Linked DNA regions of Homo sapiens: all the other regions are linked to region 4. Evidence: promoter capture Hi-C in human tissues and cell types (Jung and others, 2019). All regions are on one chromosome and are shown on one strand. Each heading gives the region's core, a stretch centred on a gene start or on the middle of the fragment in contact. The rest is flanking DNA. Distances are from core to core; before and after follow the strand shown.

Region 1 (3,008 bases), core at 213-2,712, 250 kb before region 4:
CCACGCCCGGCTAATTTTTTGTATTTTTAGTAGAGATGGGGTTTCACCATGCTAGCCAGGATGGTCTCGATCTCCTAATCGCGTGATCCACCCACTTCGGCCTCCCAAAGTGCTGGGATTACAGGAGTGAGCCACCGCAACCGGCCCAGGTCTCTTTATTTTTAAAACCCAGTCACTGGGCCAGGAAAGGGAAGGGGACTGATCTTGGAGGTGAGCCACAGCCCAGGCAAAGCCACACCACCTGAGACGACACTGAGCGTGCAGGCGGTGAAGTGGTCTTGTCCCTGAGCTGAGGGTGCTGCCCACAAGACCCTGTTCAAACCTGATGATGGGGCTTAGAACAAGGGCAACAATCTGCCCAGGGCCGCTGTGCCAGGCTGGCAGCCACACAGGTGCCGCCACTGCCCAGTGATGGGTGCTGAGCCCGCTTCCTTCCTGTGGCTTCTCTCCTGCTTTGGGCACATCTGACACAGCTCAACAGGCTGGTATTTCTGGCGGCGGTGGACTGGCTCATTGAGTGGGTCTAAGGTCCCCATCAACTCAACAGATTTTTATTAAGCAACTTCTCCATGCAGGCACCTGAGAGCTAGGAGGAATGAGAGACACAGTCTCTGCTCTCAGAATCTGCCATCCAGTGAAACAGCTGGGGGTGTCAACAGCTCCCTCCATTGTGAGTGTCTCACTCCCAGTGCCAACATGGGGTCCCAGAGGAGGAAGATGCAGGGGAAGGTGAGGTAGGAAGAGTGTGGGTGGCAGCTCCAGGCAGGTCTTGGCGGGAGGGGGGCCTGGAGGCTGTGGTACCTGAGCATGCAGGGGAGGAGACAGGGGCTGGGGCAAGGCGGGGTGGGGAAAGCACCAAGTGCGCCCGGGACAGCCTGGAAGCCCGTCCTGTCCCCAGTAACTGGAGGACTTAGCCCTACTTGGTGTGCCACGGTGGCTCAGAGGCAAGGGGGACCAGAGAGGCAGGCACACCCAGGAGGCAGGAGAGGAGCTCAGAGCGCCCTCAGCTGAGACAGGCAATGCAGCACCCAGAGGAAAGCAGGTCTTTCTTACTCCAGGCCACAAGCCAGGGATGAGGAGGGCAGCGTCAGCAGGCAAGGGCTGGTCCAGAAGTGTCCTCATGCCCAGGGCCACCACAGCCCCGCCACTGAGCTGCCGGGCATGGCCTGCAGCAGGCCCCTCCTCACCTTCTCCTTGTGCAGGGCGTTGTTCTCCAGCCCATCCACCTGCAGAAGTTTCTTGGCCACCCCAACACACGGCAGGTCTGTAAGGACGCCAAGGTGGCAGGCCACCCCAAAGCCTGCCAGAGAGAAAGGAGGGTGGGGTTGGGGAGGTGGGGCTGGGGCCTGGCACAGGGATTCAGGACAAGCCAGTCTTACCAAAAGCTTCCCTAAGTGAGCAGAGGTCTGTGGACAGGCAGAGGGCTGGGGAAACCAGATCTAAGTCCCAAGCAGACCTGGGCGAAAGCCCCCTGTGCCCGATGTCCTGGGTGCAAGGCCGTGGAGGAAGCCTCCTTCTCTCTGACACGGTCAGTGCCAGGGTCAGCACCTCGCTGGCGTGCTGGGATACTGCAGCTCTCCGGTCATTTCCTGCACCTCCCAGCTTCCTCTTCCCTCGACGGTGGCCTGCCAGCGCTGGCACGAGCATGTGGGTCGGCACATGACAACCCTTTGGCTCTGCACCCATGTGCGAGGGCAGCAGCCAGGGCCGAGTCACACTTGCTGGCCAGGAAGGCCCAATGTCACCCCTCCTGGGCCCTCTCTGGGTGCTGCTGCGCCGCCCGCAGCTCTGTATGTAACAGTAAAAGAGCCCATCTCCCTAGGCCGGGCGCGGTGGCTCACGCCTGAAATCCCAGCACTTTGGGAGGCCGAGGCAGGCGGATCACGAGGTCAGGAGATCAAGACCATCCTGGCTAACACGTGAAACCCCGTCTCTCCTAAAAATACAAAAAAATTAGCCGGGCGTGGTGATGGGCACCTGTAGTCTCAGCTACTCAGGAGGCTGAGGCAGGAGAGTGGCATGAACCCGGGAGGCGGAGGTTGCAGTGAGCCGAGATCGCGCCACTGCACTCCAGCCTGGGCGACAGAGCGAGACTCCGTCTCAAAAAAAAAAGAGCCCATCTCCCTCAGCCACGCTCCCTAGGCCAAGGTTCCTGGCATCAGTGGGGGCCTGGGTACACCTGTCTAGTTGTGGACAAGGGGCCTGACGGGCCATGCAGGTTGGGCGGCTGGCAGGGAAGGCCACTCTGAGCCCGGGCCCTGGGACATCTTTTGGTGATCAGGTCAGAACTGGATAGTGGCACCTGGAGATGAGCCAGCACAGGGCACTGTAGAGAAGGCAGTGGCGGACAGGAAAGAGGTAAGGGGTGAAGCGAAAGTAGACAGTCCTTTACCGGCGGTGGGGGAGGCGGGGCTGAGCGCACTGCGCGTCCCCGTTGCGCCGAGAAAGAAGCCATTGGAGGGGGCTGGCGGCAGAGGCCGAGGGCCCAGCATTTTCTGTGGGGGACGACAGAGGTGCCCTCTCCCCCCGCTCTTCCCCACAGTGCCCTCCCTGGACCTCCAAGAGCAGGATTACCTCGGTGGTGGAGTACCCCGTTTCCATCCACAAGAAGGACCTATGGAGCCACAGGGAGAGTCACAGTCAGCTGAGCTGCCCCTCGGCCCTCAGGACAGGGCCATCCCTGAGGCAAGAAGGGGGCACTGTCTCTGGGGTCCAGCTTTTTAGAAATCCTCATTCCTCTCTTCCAGGAAGCTCATGAGTCTCTCCCTGCCACTGTGGTGGTGGCGACCTGCAGCAGCCTTCCCTCCCCCAGGGGGAAGGAGGGACCTTTCTCTCGTCCTAGGGATGAGACACCTGCCTGGGGCATGAGGCCCGGCTCCTTCTCCCGCAGCTGCTGCACCAGCTCCAGCAAGAAGGGCACCTCTCGGAAGGCCAGGAAGCCCGACACGTAGGGGGCTGTGAGGCTGACCATGCGGCTCTCCTCATACACCACCTGACACCAGGCACGC
Region 2 (3,108 bases), core at 547-3,046, 170 kb before region 4:
GCCAGGAAATCACTTTCTAACCCAACTTCCTGAAACTAAGTTTCTCCACTAAGCTATACATGTATTATGTATGTGAGTGAACATAAAACTCTCTTTTGCTAAGAAATTTTTGACAAACATCTCCTTCTCATCTTAGCTGGCATTAGGAAAGGTGAGGTCTTTCAACAGATGAATTTCCTAGATTCAGAGCACAGCTGGGATTCAGACTGGGCATACAGCATGAAGCCTGAATTGAACAGAAATATTGAAGACACTGCTAATTAACAGAAGAGTACTTTTATCCCAGACATGATTAAAAAGTGAGTTTAAAGATGGGCTTTTCTTTACTAACACTGCATTCAGCTGCTGCACTAAGTAAGGCAAAGATGTGGAGTCTCCTAAACGCGCCATTCCACTTCAGTAAGACCAGAAAGAACCCAAGAGCCCCCCACGCCAGGCGAAAACGCCCCACAGTACAGACCAGCGCTGAAGAGCTCCTCGACGGCACTGACGTCCTCCTTTCCAGGATTTCAACGATATACAAATGGCAGGGGTTCCGAAGCCACATTTTCCCATTTATATCCATTAAGTATTGTAAAATGAGGAGCTTGAAAAGAAACACCCAAATTCCAGTCTGCACCTAAGAACAGAATCGCACGAGGTGTAAACACACGACACGATGGCGAGTTCTCCCAACTCTAAGTAACCCCTCCTTATTTTGCTCTTTGTCACGATGATCCTGATGATCAACATCAACATTTCAGCCAACAACGGCCCATGTCTCCAAGGGCAGCCCCATAAAATCCTAATACTATATTTCCCTGTACCATTTTTATGTTTAGACACATAAATACACCGTTTTACAATTGGCTCCAGGATTCAGAACAGCCATATGCAGCACAGGTTTGCGGCCTAGGAGCGACAGTGTGTACCATAAAGCCTGTGTGTGCAGTGGGCTCTACGTCTAGGTTAGTGTAAGCGCACACCATGACGTTCACACAAGGAGGAAACTGCCTGACAACACACTTCTCAGAGCACATTCCCACTGTTAAGCTTCACAGGACTGTGCGTGTGGAAACAAGGAATTCTATACACGGGGAGGAGTCACGCAGAGACATGGGGACCACGTCTTTACTGATGTGGCCATCGGCTGACGCTGGAGGGCACTTACTGAGGAGGTCACGTCCAGGTGAAAGAGCACGGGGACCTTCTGATACTGCGCATCCAGGAAGGGCAGCAGGGCGCCCAGGACTCGGCTCTCATCCACCTGAGGGTCGATCAGTCGAATTGTTTTCAGAGGCACATTTTTCACGTTTAACTGCATCTTCATTTTGTCGTGCAACCTCTTCACGTACAGAGACTTTCCTATAACATTAATACAGAAATTAGGGCTGGGAGTGGTGGCTCACACCTGTAATCCTAGCACTTTGGGAGGCCGAGGCGGGGGGATCACTTGAGGTCAGGAGTTCAAAGCCAGCCTGGTCAACGTGGTGAAATCCCGTCCCTACTAAAAATACAAAAAAATTAGCCAGGCGTGGTGGCAGGCACCTGTAATCCCAGCTACTCAGGAGGCTGAGGCAGGAGAATCGCTTGAACCCGGGAGGCGGAGGTTGTAGTGAGCTGAGATTGCACCACTACACTCCAGCCTGGGCATCCCTTAAGACATCCCTTAGGGTGCAGTTGTCATCGTTAGGGTGACAGAGCGAAACTCTGTCTCAAAAAATATATATATATAATATATATATACATACAATATATATATAATATATATATACATACTATATATGTATATATAGAATATATATAGTATATATGGAAGTATATAGAATATATATTATATATGTAAAAATATATAGAATATATATAGAAATCTATATAGAATATGTATCGAATATATATAGTGTATGTATATACAGCATGTGTGTGTATATATATAAAAATAGAGAGAGAGAGAGAGAGAAAAATTAAGTCCCAGGGCTAGGACAAAGAGTAAGAGAATCTATAAAGATCCACTAGAAGTTACTTCTCTTTGTATAAAATTCAAAACTGATGCAACATAACATCAGATTCAAGAATACGCTCTTGAACCTTCACATTTCCCAGCCGTTACCTACTCACTCTCCTGGTCACCTCCTGCCTCCGCAGGACAGCAGGCAAAGCAGAGTCCCGCGCCACTTAGCACTAGGGACACGTTCTGAAAAATGCATTGTGAAATGATTCTGTCACTGTGAACATCAGAGTGTGCCTGCAGAAACCCAGATGGTAGAGCCGACCACACACCCGAGCTAGGTGGAATAGCCCATTGCCCCTGGGCTGCAAGCCGTGACAGCATGGGGGCATCCTACATACAGTGGGGAGCTGTGACACGGGGCAAATATCTGAATATCTAAACATATTCAGGCCAGGCACGGTGGCTCAGGCCTGTAATCCCAGCACTTTGGGAGGCTGAGGCGGGTGATCACTCAAGGTCAGGAGTTTGAGACCAGCCTGGCCAACATGGTGAAACCCCATCTCTACTAAAAACTAGTCAGGTGTGGTGGCGTGTGCCTGTAGTCCCAGCTACTCAGGAGGCTGAGGCAGGAGAATCGCTTGAACCCAGGAGGCAGAGGCTGCAGTGAGCCGAGATCGTGCCATTGCACTCCAGCCTGGGCAACAGAGTGAGACTCCATCTCAAAAATAAAAATAAAAATGTAGAAAAGGTACAGTAAAAAATATGGTATTATAATCTTTTGTTCTTTCTTTCTTTCTCTTTTTTTAAAAGACCAAGGCCTTGCCCCGTTGCCTAGGCTGGAGTGCAGTGTCGTATTTGCAGCTCACCACAGCCTCGACCTCTTGGGCTGGAGCGATCCTCCCAAGTCAGCCTTCCTAGTAGCTGGGATCACAGGCATGCACCACCATGCCTGGCTAATTTTTAAAGTACAGTTTTCTAATCTTATGGGACCGTGGTCATATACGTGGTCTGCTGTTGACTGAAATGTCATTATGTGTTGAGTGACTAGCTAATAAAAGTCACAGCAAAAGGAGAGGCTTCAGCAGGGAGGGGAAGAGTAATGTTTATCCCAACAGGACGAGGTACTGTTGATAGGATAAAGTCAACAGAACAGAAGCTACTATTTCTTTTTAAGGGAA
Region 3 (2,703 bases), core at 179-2,678, 210 kb before region 4:
CATTCTTTCCAGCAACAGCACAGACAGAGCTCAGACTGGCTGTGTGTGGGGTGGCCCACAAGACAGCGAGCCTGCTTGCGCTGCCGTTGTGCTGTGTGATCCCCGCCCAGCCCTTGCCCCTTTCCTCACTTCTGCTAGAGAGCTGGTGCTGCTCTTGGAGAAGCCTGCGCAGGACGAGGTGGACCACGCCGATGGTCTCGTCGGCACTGTGTCCCAGCATCTTGGCCAACTGCTCCAGGTCCTTCAGGATGTGCTGCTGCAGAAAGCCTTTTGGATCCCTCACTGGAGGCTTAATGATGTTTATCAGAGCCTGTGGGGGCAACGGAACAGAGTGTTCAGCGGGGATCTGGTTTGTAGAGAAGATGGTGAGCCTGGTAGAGGCCATTGGGAGTGGAGCACCAGCATAGAGTCGGAAGGCGGTTTCTAAGATGAAAACGGCGGAGTGATCCAGGTGAAAGGAAGGCTAGCAAGCGGAACGGCTGCTGGCTTTTCTGTTGTTACAGTGAGATAAAGAATATCCAGATTGTACTGTTGGCCATCTTGGTTATGCAGTGTGCTCTTTCTTCCCTAGCTACAATGAAGACACAGGTAAAATAATGAAGATGTCAGCCTCTCTACTCCCAGATGTGGACCAGAGACACAGAGTGTTAATTTGAAGTGGATTCTGTATAATCTGGGGAGTAGTTCCCCCCATACCATCATACGCCACAGGGGGAAACATGAAGATGTATAACTTGTATATTACTTTGTAGACTAATTATCTCCAAAACGCATAGATGGCAGCTAGGACTCAAGACAAAAGGACTCCCTGGGAAGAAGCGAAAGCAGGTTCTTAACTGAGCCCATTGTTTGGCAGCACTGGGTTATACCTGGGAACTCTGGGACGCTCCCAGAAGCAGAGCCAAGTGAGTGAGTAGCCGGATAAGGAGGAAGACCACTGGGGGCAGCCCTCGGTCACATGTCACCACGTCTCTCCGCTGCGGGTTGCCCAGCACGTGGCCGGTCTGCGTTCTGTCTGCCTTGTCTCTGGAAAGAACGAGAGAACACAAGACAGAGGCTGAGGCTGGCCGCTTTGGCACGCTGCACTTTCTCAGCACTTGGAGTGAGGCTTACGGCTGAGAAGAGAGTTATGTGAAGAGTACTTGCTGTTCCACAAAGCCTGGACCATGTTCCTAAGAGTCTCTCTCATGATAGACTCGCCTTTCCGGTGGACCAGACCCGACCGCATTCTCAGCGTCAGGTGGCTGCGCTGTGTGGTATTGATGCTGATCCCCGGGCAGGGTGTTAAGACGCAGGCCTGGACCCGTCTTTTCCACTGAAGTCTTTGTCAGGAGAGGAGCGGTTGGGCTAAGAACAGCTAGAGTTTGGGAGGACAGTCGGCATCCCATGGGTGTCCATATTGTTCTCATCTCCCCAAAGGAAAAACCGGGATCTAAAGTCCGGCAGAGAGGAGATGCAGTGTGGCCGATGCTCTCAGTGGCAAAACTATTAGAGGATGGAGGACACTGTGACAGTTTCTGGAGATAACATGAAAGTATTTTAAGCTGTGACTGCAGGGAACAGTCAGAATGTGAGGCCCCCACGCAGGTCCCACTCACTCTCTGAAAGGAGCATTTAGAACCACATTCATCTCAGCATGGGATTGTGGGATCGGATTTGTACCTGGATTCTGAAGTCTGGTATTTCATAAGACTATGTCTGTCTCCTTCATTTTTCTCAAAAAATAAAAAATGGAGAAAGCTAAGATTGCTGGCAAGTGAGATGGCATCTGCTGAGACAGACGGATGCCCAGGTTTTGGTCCTGCAGACATAGATGTCCTCGTGAATTAGATCATCTGTTTATGTCATGCATATTTCTACAGAAGGTGCACCCAAGGCCCAAAAGGAAGACACCTGTATTCATATTAACAGCTGTTAAAGGGTAGCCTGCTTTGCATTTCAGGGCCCAGGGATCCAACAACAGATCAGATGCCTCCCTGCTGTGTGACTGCTGGGACTTTGGCATTGCTATTCAATATGACACAGGCCCACATGTACTGGAGTAATTAGTACTATCTTGAGTATCACTTTATCAGCTGGAATAAAAACAGCCCAACACCCCAAAGTTTGAGTACTTAGGAAATAGAATCCTGACCCACATACTTGACCAGATGAAAGCCGTCCCGAGGTTTGTGGTCAATGCCTCCAATCGGCGCATGGCAGTCAATGCAGATGCTCTGTTCCATCGGCCTGCCACACTAGGGTGAAGACAGGGCACTAGAACCACTTCTGGAGCAGTACCATTTTATGCACAAATGCCATCATGCAAATGAACACCTCCTTATCACCGGCAGACGTGAGCACCCTCAGATTGTCCCAGTGTGTGCTTGTTTCGGGTGGGTGGAGAACCCATGGGAACAGGGTAGGTACTCACTAATGTTGCACGTGGGCAAACTGGAACTGTTTTTTAAATAAGTGAGACAATTTAAGCTTTATTCCCAGAGTGACACTTTATAGACAAATATATAAAATTCAACCTTCCTTTCTTGTATTCAGCACTTTTTCCATCCCTCCATCTATCACACTAGCCTGTGGCACTTCATGATCTAATACCAAGAATACTAGAAGAGCTTCCAAACTGACTTCCTTATATTCATTTGGACTTTTTCATATATCAATTTTTATGAGACAGAGCCTCGCTCTGTCCTCCAGGCTGGAGTGCAG
Region 4 (3,113 bases), core at 596-3,095:
TGCCCGAGCCTCACAAGACTCCTGAGGAGGGTCTGAGGGTGCTGACTGTGCCCTCCCATCAGACTGAACTCAGAAAGCCAGGGCAGCTCAAGCCAAAGCTGCCTCACCAGCAGCTGAAGACAGGGGCTCTGCAGAACTCTCCAGACCCCAGCCAACTGCCCCAGCCAGCTGCCCCTCAGGCTTCTGGAGCCCCCAGAGCCACACTGAACTTCAAGCATCAGTGGGTGGAGCTAAATAGAAGTCACTAGTCCCTTCTGCAGTTGCCATGAAGCAACTTACAGTAGTCTCCAATGGCAGTTAACAATTGCAGGAGTTTCTTTGTAACTTGTCCCAGTGTAAATAAGGGTTAGTCCTAACAGTAAAACAAAACAAAACAAAACAAAAAACCTTAGGGCTGGGCACAGTGGCTCAGGCCTGTAATCCCAGCACTTTGGAGGCCAAGGCAGGAGGATTGCTTGAGCTCAAGAGTTCAAGGCTGCAGTGAGCTATGATTGTGCCACTGCCCTCCAGCCTGGGTGACAGAGCAAGACCCTGGCTCAAAAAAAGGAAAAGAAAGAAAGAGAGAGAGAGAGAAAGAAAGAAAGAAAAGAAGAAAAGAAAGAGAGAGGAAGGAAGGGAAGGAGAGAGAGAAGGAAGGAAGGAAGGAAGGAAGGAAGGAAGGAAGGAAGGGAGGGAGGGAGGGAGGGAGGGAGGGAGGGAGGAAGGGGAGGGGAAGGGGAAGGTGAATGGGAAGGCGCCAGGAGCCGTGGCTCACGCCCGTAATCCCAGCACTTTGGGAGACCAAGATGGGCGGATTACCTGAAGTCAGGAGTTTGAGACCAGCCTAGCCAACGTGACAAAACCCTGTCTCTACTAAAAATAAAAAAATTAACCAGGTGTGGTGGCGTGCACCTATAGTCCCAGCTACTTGGGAGACTGAGGCAGGAGAATCACCTGAACCCAGGAGGCAGAAATTGCAGTGAGCCGAGATTGTGCCACTGCAACTCTAGCCTGGGCGACAGAGGGAGACTTCTGAAAAAGGAGAGAAGAGGGGAGGGGAGGAGAGGGGAGAGGAGGGGAGGGGAGAGGAGGGGAGGGGACGGGAGGGGAGGGGACGGGAGGGGAGGGGAGGGCCCAGAGATCTCTAATTCCAAACTCTGAATCTAACTGTACAGCAATTCTAGAAGAGCCTAAGATCATAAAATCCTGAGCATCTAAGATGTGGGTTCTCCTTATTTGACCCCTCCCAGGTCAACATCCTTCTCCTAACCCAAGTGTCAGTCTCTTCCCTTGCCAGTGAAGTAGGGAAGAAGGCATGTACACATACACACACGCACACGCACACACACACATGTACATACCCCATGGGGGGCAGAGGGTCACAAGCCCAGGAGGAGGGGGCACAGCTCACCTCGGCCCCCCAGTGCCATGACAGGCTGGCTGTGCCTCTGCTACCAACAGCAGCCAGCTGGTCTTGCTCACTTTGTTCTGAACTTAGACACCTTCCTTCTGCTGTCTTTCATCCCACGGCAATAGCGAAGAGATGAGAGTATAAAACAGAGATCCCTTTCATCTAGCATGACCCATGCTGTTTTAAGGCAGAACTCAGCATTCAGAGAATGTTCCAGTGATTGACCCAGCAACACAGACAAGCCGTTTTCTGTTCTCTAGTCCACATACAAGGCAGCTCCTCCACTCCTGATGAGGAAGATGCCGGCCCCTCCCACTCCCCTGGGACCACTCTCGGGCCCCATCAGACCTGTGTCGGCTGAGCCCCTCCGTAGGCTGAGCCCTCCGTAGGCTGACCTGCTCTTCGCCGGATGGACTGCGCGCACTTACCTTCCCCCTCCCAGGGAAGCGAGGACTGAATGTGGCCCAATCTCTGGCTGAACTGAACGGCAGTGGACAAGCAGGTTTGACAGGCACATCCCACAGGAGCAGTGCCTTATATGGGGCTTCTATGAGCCATCGAAGCACCAGTGCAGTCCCACAGCTAGACATTGCCGTAAGAACCACAGGGATGGCTGAGAACAGTCCGTGCATCTGGTCGACCCACAGAAGATGGTGATTGAGGGTGATTGAGGGGAAGGCTTCAGGCTTGGGGGCTGGGAATCCTCTCTCCTTTGTGAACGGTCACCCAGTTCATCATCATTTCTACCCTTGGGAAAATCCTACGAAGATCAGGATAAATTCTAGGGCCTTTCTTGGTTCTCATGATCCATTATTGGAAGTATCTGAATAATTCCAATAGATCCATCTCAAGTTAACATTTCATAACTATTGTTTAGATTTAGATGAAAGTCTTGGTCCTCCACCTTGAGATATGTCTAGAATCCGATCCATTCTCACCACCTGCATTGTGGTGTCCTGATCATGGCCCACCGGGACCTCTGTAATGGCTCCTAACTTCTTCCCACGCCCCCATCACCAGCGCTCAACACAGCAGACAGAGAAGTCCTGCTAGGGCATGAGTCAGCTCCTGTCATTCCCTTCGGTGTACAGGTCCTGGAGTCCTCAGCGTGACCATGAGGCTCTGCTTATCAGGTCCTTGCTGACCTTATCTCTCTTTTACCTGCTCCAGACACACAGCCCAACAGTCTTGACAGTCCAGGCACACTTCTGCCCCAGGGCCTTTGCACCTGCTGTTCCCACTGCCTGGAACACTCTTTCCCATCCCTCCTTCCAGACTCTACTCAAATGCTACTTCCCAGATCATCCTACTTAAGTCCGTAGACCTCCCATCCTGGCCTTCACTCCCCTTCCCTGTTCCATCTTCTCTGTGGGAATACTGCCTTGACCTAACGTGTATTCTAGTTACGTGGCTTCCTGCCAGCCTCCCCACTCCACAGTAACCTACTGAGGACAATAATTCTTGTCTTTCTTGTTCCCTGCTGTGTCCCCACCCCTAGGGCTGTGATATTCCACAAATATTGGTTGAGCGAATGAATAAACATTGGTTAGGGGCTTGGTTCCCAATGATGCAGACACTGAAAGAAGGGAAATTCACAGGTCCATGGCCTGAGAACCTTCAGGATTATCCTGCGGACAATCAAAGATCGGCCTTCAAGGTCATGTAGCTCATGGTGGCTGAGCAGTAGCTCCAACCCAAATCTCCTGGTGATGAGCCGGCTGAA
Region 5 (3,047 bases), core at 47-2,546, 150 kb after region 4:
TGATCCACCTTAGCCTCCCGAGTAGCTGGGATTACAGGCACACACCACCACCCCCAGCTAATTTTTTAGAAGTGGGATCTTGTTATGTTGCCCAGGCTGGTTTGTTTGTTTGTTTTTGTTTTTTGAGATGGAGTTTCACTCTTGTTTCCAGGCTGGAGTGCAATGGCACGATCTCGGCTCACTGCAACCTCCACCACCTGAGTTCAAGCGATTCTCATGCTTCAGCCTCCCGAGTAGCTGGGATTACAGGCATGCACCACCATGCCTGTCTAATTTTGTATTTTTAGTAGACACGGGGTTTCTCCATGTTGGTCAGGCTGGTGTCGAACTCCCGACCTCAGGTGATCCACCCGCCTTGGCCTCCCAAAGTGCTGGGATTACAGGCGTGAGCCACCGTGCCCGGCCCTGCCCAGGCTGGTTTTGAGCTCCTGGGCTTGAGCAATCCTCCCACGTCAGCCTCCCAAATTGTTGGAATTACAAGTGTGAACCACTGTGCCCAGTCAGAAAACCATTTTTCAGTTCCCAGCCTGGTGGAGATTTAAATCCCTGGCAGCACTCTTACATTTCGGGGAACCCACTGGGCAATACGAGTTGGGGTCCAGTTTATCCTCCTGGGGAAACAGTAATCCTGGAAATAATGAGGATACAGATGAAGATTTATGTATTAAAATGTGGAGTTTATTATTTCAGTAGCCACTAGTTGGAAGCCAGATGCCTAGCAATGGCGGCTGATTCTATGAAGATGGAGGGTTGGCATTTATAATTTTTATTTTTATTTATTTATTTGTTTTGAGATGGAGTCTCGCTCTGTCTCCCAGGCTGGAGTGCAGTGGCGCCATCTCAGCTCACTGCAACCTCCACCTCCTGAGTACAAGCAGTTCTCCTGCCTCAGCCTCCTGAGTAGCTGGGACTACAGGCACCCGCCCCTACGCTTGGCTAATTTTTGTATTTTTTAGTAGAGACAGGATTTCACCATGTTGGCCAGGCTGGTCTTGAACTCCTGATCTCAGGTGATCCGCCCGCCTCAGTCTTCCAAAGTGCTGGGATTACAGGCGTGAGCCACCACACCTGGCCTTATACTTTTTAAATGTGTTAATAATGTGGTATATTTGTTTGCTAGGGCTGCCCTAACAAAGTACCAGGGTCCAGGTGGCTTGAGCAATAGAAATCTCTCTGACAGCCCTGGAGGCAGGAAGTCTAAGATCAAGGTGTCGGCAGGATTGTTTCCTTAGGAGGCTGTGAGGGAGGGGCTGCTCCAGGCCTGCTCCTTGCTGGTAGGTGGCATCATTGTATTCACACAGCACTCTCCTTGTATATAGGCACCTGCTACCAACTTCCTCTTTTTATAAAGACACCAGTCATATTGACCTCAAGGTAACTTGATCACCTCTATAAAGATGCTGTCTTCAAAAACAGTTTCATTCTTGGGTACTGGGGTTTAAGACTTCAACACAGGAATTTTAGGGGATGTACTTCAACCCTAAAGTTTGTTATATCATAAGTATACTTCACCTGGGAAAATATATTTATGATCCAACTGAAAGCAAGATATGATATAATTCCAAGGAGTGGGTTTTTCATTAACTCATTCATTATAGGGCACAAAATATAGTAGAGAATACATAAATGTCTTAGGATTATGTGATTTAAGGGACACGTATTCTTCCTTTTCCTTCTCTGAGTGTGTTTCATAACTAAAAAAAAGTTTTAAAAAATGGGCCAAGGATTCTCCACTTCTAGTTTGCTGGTGACCAGAGGTTGGGAACTAGGTTGGATTTCGATGAAATAGCCTCTTGCGAAACAGCAAATGCACTTTACAAATAAGGAGAATTGTTTTTAGAGAGCAAACAGTCCTGTCTAATGTTTAATAGACATGCTCCATTTCTCCAAAAAGAGCCCAGTCTCTCCAGAACAATCTGGGAGGGGCGGGGGGGGGTTGTCCTGGTGTCCCAGGTGGCGGGTGATGGAGGAGCCGGAGTTCTGCACGTGGGGGACGAAGGTCTCACGCTGCAGGGTTTCCCGCTCACGAAATGACCCTGAGTGGTCAGAACCTGTCTTCTCCTCCGTAAAGCTGCACTGTTGGGACGCACCTCGCAGAGCCACAGTGAGGTTCTGCCTGTCATGGTATGGGAGAAAATGCTGTATTTTGAACACTTGTATTTCGGAATCTCCTTTAAAGCTTCCAGCACATTCTTTTGATTATCCTCAGTGCTGGCAAAACATTTTCACTTAAAGAGGGTTTTGATTTGGGGAAGCAGCTGAGAGCTGTGTGCAGCCAGCTCTGGCAACTGGAGCGATCACACTGAGTAGAGCCATTTGAAACACAGAAGGAGGTGGGCTCCAGCCCCGCTGCGGCCTTGTCCAGTGTGGACACCGCGCAGGCTACAGAGCACCCAAAACGTGGCTGAGCAGAACTTTGACGTGCTTAAGTGCAAAATGCACAGCAGACTTTGGAGACTTTAAGGACATAAAATAGGCCAGGTGCGGTGGCTCCCGCCTGTAATCCTAACACTTTGGAAGGCTGAGGCAGGAGGATCACTTGAGGCCAGAAGTTCAAGACCAGCCTGGGCAAAAAAGTGAAACCTCATCTCTACAAAAAATAAAAAAATTAGCGGGACCTGGTGGCATGTGCCTTTAGTCCAGGCTATTTGGGAGACTGGGCAGGAGGATTCCTTGAGCCCAGGAGTTTCAGAATACAGTGAGCTGTGATCACACCACTGCACTCTAGCCTGGGTGACAACCTGTCTCTAAAAAAAAAAAAAGAATGTAAAAGATTTCATTAATAATTTTTTCAGGCTGGGCACGGTGGCTCACGCCTGTAATCCCAGCACTTTGGGAGGCCGAGGCAGGCGGATCACGAGGTCAGGAGATCGAGACCATCCTGGCTAACATGGTGAAACCCCATCTCTACTAAAAATACAAAAAAATTAGCCGGGCATGGTGGCGGGCGCCTGTAGTCCCAGCTACTCGGGAGGCTGAAGCAGGAGAATGGCGTGAACCTGGGAGGCGGAGCTTGCAGTGAGCCGAGATTGCACCGTTGCACTCCA
Region 6 (2,800 bases), core at 37-2,536, 190 kb before region 4:
TTCATTGTCTAGGATGTGAGAAGCGTCAGCGAGATGTGTCCTTAACATCTCTGAATTCAGCTAAGGTATGTGCCTTGTGAAGAAATCTCCCACTTGGAACACAGCCCCAGAAGCTCTCCATTCCCAGAGTGGAGTTGGAAGCACCACAAGGCTTGCTCAGGGCAGGCGGAGGAGGGCCATACCATCTCACATCCAGCCAGCTCATGGTTCCAACGGGCTTCCATCAGGCTGTGGAGAACCTGAGGGTAGATGGTCAGGATTCTGGAAAAGTTCTGCAGACGGCTTCTGAAACGCTGGTAGGCAAGGTGCACCCACGGTAAGGAAACCTCTTCCTCGGGCGCTTCTGACGCCGCTTTCAGTTTCCTAGTGCAGGACCACAGAGCCATCTGCAGAAACTGGGATTCAAAAAAGCTTTTAGAATATATTTTTAAATTACAAAAATGGTATGTTTTCCCCGTGGGAAATCCGAACTATTGGAAAACCATAAAAGAGGAAATTAGAAACCATGTGTGCTATTCTGTCCCGTTTGCTTCTGTCCAGTTTTCTATCTGCCTCTCCTCCCACGTTAAGGTCACCGTGTCGTCTGGGCTTTTTGCCACTGAACATGACATCATGAACTTTCCCTATGACTGAGTATACTTGAAAAACATGGTTTTAATGGCTGCTCAATAACCCATCATACGGCCATACTTTAATTTGCCCATCCTGTATTTCCGGACAATTAAACTATTTCTTATTTTTCGAAGCAAAGCTGAAAAGGACATCCCTGTGAACCAAATATTTGTCCACATCTCCAGTAGTTTCCTCAGGACAGAGTCAGCAGTTCAGATCGGATAAGGTGCTCAACTGTTCTGCCACGCAGCCCTGCAGGGCGCCCACTGTGCACGCTACACTGTCAGCCGCGTGGCCTGGCTATTTCTTTGCAGCACTGGCCGGCGGCTGTTGTTTTTAAAAATCAGCTTTGCAAAATGAATACGTAAACATGATATCTAAAAACTGTTGTGTTGATTTGCTATTAATAGTAAGGCTAAGCAATTTTTCAAATGTTTCCTGGATGTTGATATGCTTAATGAGATTATAAAATTGTTGTTTTATAACGTTTACCCATTTTTTAAAACTTAGGGTATTTTCTTATTGATTCCTAAGAATATTAACCTCTAGTCATATTAGCTGTAAGGATGTTCTTAAATTTGTCACTCTCCTTTTTTATGTACTGAAGTTTAAAATTTTTAGGTAGTCAAAAGTATGACTTTCTATTGAATTTCACTTGTTTATTCTTACCCTGTAGGGTTAGTTACGTATTTAATTTTTTTCAAGAGAAACTCAACATTTAAAAAGAAGCTATGTCAAGGAAATTGGAGGTCTTCTCATGTTCACAGAAAGCTCCGTGTTTTAGGAGCCCCTGGGCGGTGGACTGAGGGTGTAGCACTGAATATTGAGAGGAGACTGGGCGACCCCTTCACCCACCGGCACCCTTCGCTGACCATGTTCTGTTCCCAGACTTCACAGCACCAGCTCCAGGCAGCTGAGGAAACGTCTCCGTGTCTGCATCCAGTCCCCATCATGCAAGCTCTACACCTGACCCTTAGCCAGTATCTAAACATCTACCTTTAATTCCTCCTCCGTTGACACACGCATGGTCAAGAGAATGAAATCCTTCAAGTAACACTGAAGAAGTTCCTGCTGCGGCTCTCCATGGAGCTGGGCAAGAAACCTGCCCAGAGGAGTCTGCTGAAAGATGTCCACGAACTTCTTGGGCAGTCCTGCAGAGAGGAAACCAAGGAGCGGCCTGGAGTGCGTCTAAGTCATGGCGCTCCCCTGCCTCCAGGGGGCTCCGGAGTGAAGGGGAATGGGGACGCCTTGTTGAATGGGAGCTCGTAGACAAAGGGGTACCAACTGCCTGATTTTGTAGGGAATTGAAGGAATAGTCACTGTCTAGACATTTAGGATATTTTTCTTTTTCCTTTTTTTTGGAGATGGAGTCTTACTCTGTTGCCCAGGCTGGAGTGCGGTGGGTAGCGTGATCTCTGCTCACTGCAACCTCCGCCTCCCAGGTTCAAGTGATTCTCCTGCCTCAGCCTACCAAGTAGCTGGGACTACAGGCATGCACCACCACACCCAGCTAATTTTTTGTATTTTTAGTAGAGACGGGGTTTCACCATGTTGGTCAGGCTGGTCTCGAACTCCTGACCTCAGGTGATCTGCCGGCCTTGGCCTCCCAAGGTGTTGTGAACCACTGCGCCTGGCCTAGGATATTTTTCCAGTGGAATAAAATAAAGGAAGGCGGAAACAGTGTCAAATTTAGGTCAGAAACAGCCAAGCTAGCCCCAAAGAGAAACATCTAGATAAGACTGAGTTGTATGTTGCATGGCTACATTGTATGTTGCATGGCTACAGGTCACAGCATGCTTCAGGAACCCCCGGGTCCAAGTAAATTAGGAACAAGTGGGCTGCTCTTCAGGGGCTGGGGGTCACAGAGCATGCAAGCCAGAAAGATCTGGCTTCTAGTGGGCGGGGTGCAGCCCCTAATTCGCATGCTGTCATAGAAAAGCAGGGTCAGTTGGGGTATTGTCCTGAGAAAGGAATATGCTCATGAGGAGAGAGACTGCTTTGAGAAAAAGTGGCAGAATGGTAACCTAGAAAAGAAGGCCACCCTGAGTCTTCCAAATGGTACGATAAGTAAACGTGGAAAAGACTATTGCATGTATGAAAGATGGCTTTTGTAAAAGTGTTGCGTTGTCGTTGGTTTTTCTGGACTAGGGCAAATCTTCTGGCATCTGGCAGCAGAGCTCAGCACTGT

What was found. The method cuts DNA at HindIII sites, captures the fragments that hold promoters and counts their contacts. A contact is called where the count stands out against the background at its distance.
Region 1: a fragment that was not itself captured here is called in contact with the fragment with the promoter of CARD14 in region 4 in 4 of the 25 tissues and cell types used here (adrenal gland, bladder, mesendoderm cells and 1 more).
Region 2: a contact is called between a fragment that was not itself captured here and the fragment with the promoter of CARD14 in region 4, in 1 of the 25 tissues and cell types used here (mesendoderm cells).
Region 3: a fragment that was not itself captured here is called in contact with the fragment with the promoter of CARD14 in region 4 in 5 of the 25 tissues and cell types used here (H1 embryonic stem cells, lymphoblastoid cells, mesenchymal stem cells and 2 more).
Region 5: a fragment that was not itself captured here is called in contact with the fragment with the promoter of CARD14 in region 4 in 1 of the 25 tissues and cell types used here (adrenal gland).
Region 6: a contact is called between a fragment that was not itself captured here and the fragment with the promoter of CARD14 in region 4, in 1 of the 25 tissues and cell types used here (small bowel).

What each region holds. Positions count from the first base shown.
Region 1 is chr17:80,421,812-80,424,819 of GRCh38, reverse strand. ENDOV (endonuclease V) reads right to left here. Exons shown (of 10, transcript NM_173627.5): 3 at 2,858-2,992; 4 at 2,575-2,614; 5 at 1,188-1,300. Among named protein-coding and RNA genes, the nearest start is that of MIR4730, 3.9 kb to the right of the region's middle. The HindIII fragment of the contact is 8,908 bases long and covers 1-3,008 here.
Region 2 is chr17:80,341,368-80,344,475 of GRCh38, reverse strand. RNF213 (ring finger protein 213) reads right to left here. Exons shown (of 68, transcript NM_001256071.3): 27 at 1,151-1,344; 28 at 461-619. Among named protein-coding and RNA genes, the nearest start is that of ENDOV, 72 kb to the left of the region's middle. The HindIII fragment of the contact is 5,401 bases long and covers 1-3,108 here.
Region 3 is chr17:80,379,154-80,381,856 of GRCh38, reverse strand. RNF213 (ring finger protein 213) reads right to left here. Exons shown (of 68, transcript NM_001256071.3): 55 at 2,143-2,237; 56 at 870-1,026; 57 at 130-310. The region is part of intron 1 of RNF213-AS1 (RNF213 antisense RNA 1); the gene reads left to right. Among named protein-coding and RNA genes, the nearest start is that of ENDOV, 35 kb to the left of the region's middle. RefSeq lists an enhancer at 1,035-1,535. The HindIII fragment of the contact is 3,872 bases long and covers 1-2,703 here.
Region 4 is chr17:80,168,762-80,171,874 of GRCh38, reverse strand. CARD14 (caspase recruitment domain family member 14) reads right to left here and starts at 1,845. Exons shown (of 24, transcript NM_001366385.1): 1 at 1,819-1,845. The HindIII fragment of the contact is 21,960 bases long and covers 1-3,113 here.
Region 5 is chr17:80,018,329-80,021,375 of GRCh38, reverse strand. The region is part of intron 1 of TBC1D16 (TBC1 domain family member 16); the gene reads left to right. Among named protein-coding and RNA genes, the nearest start is that of TBC1D16, 16 kb to the left of the region's middle. The HindIII fragment of the contact is 5,540 bases long and covers 1-3,047 here.
Region 6 is chr17:80,360,697-80,363,496 of GRCh38, reverse strand. It overlaps RNF213 (ring finger protein 213), which reads right to left. Exons shown (of 68, transcript NM_001256071.3): 39 at 1,609-1,763; 40 at 183-395. The region is part of intron 1 of RNF213-AS1 (RNF213 antisense RNA 1); the gene reads left to right. Among named protein-coding and RNA genes, the nearest start is that of ENDOV, 53 kb to the left of the region's middle. The HindIII fragment of the contact is 6,097 bases long and covers 1-2,800 here.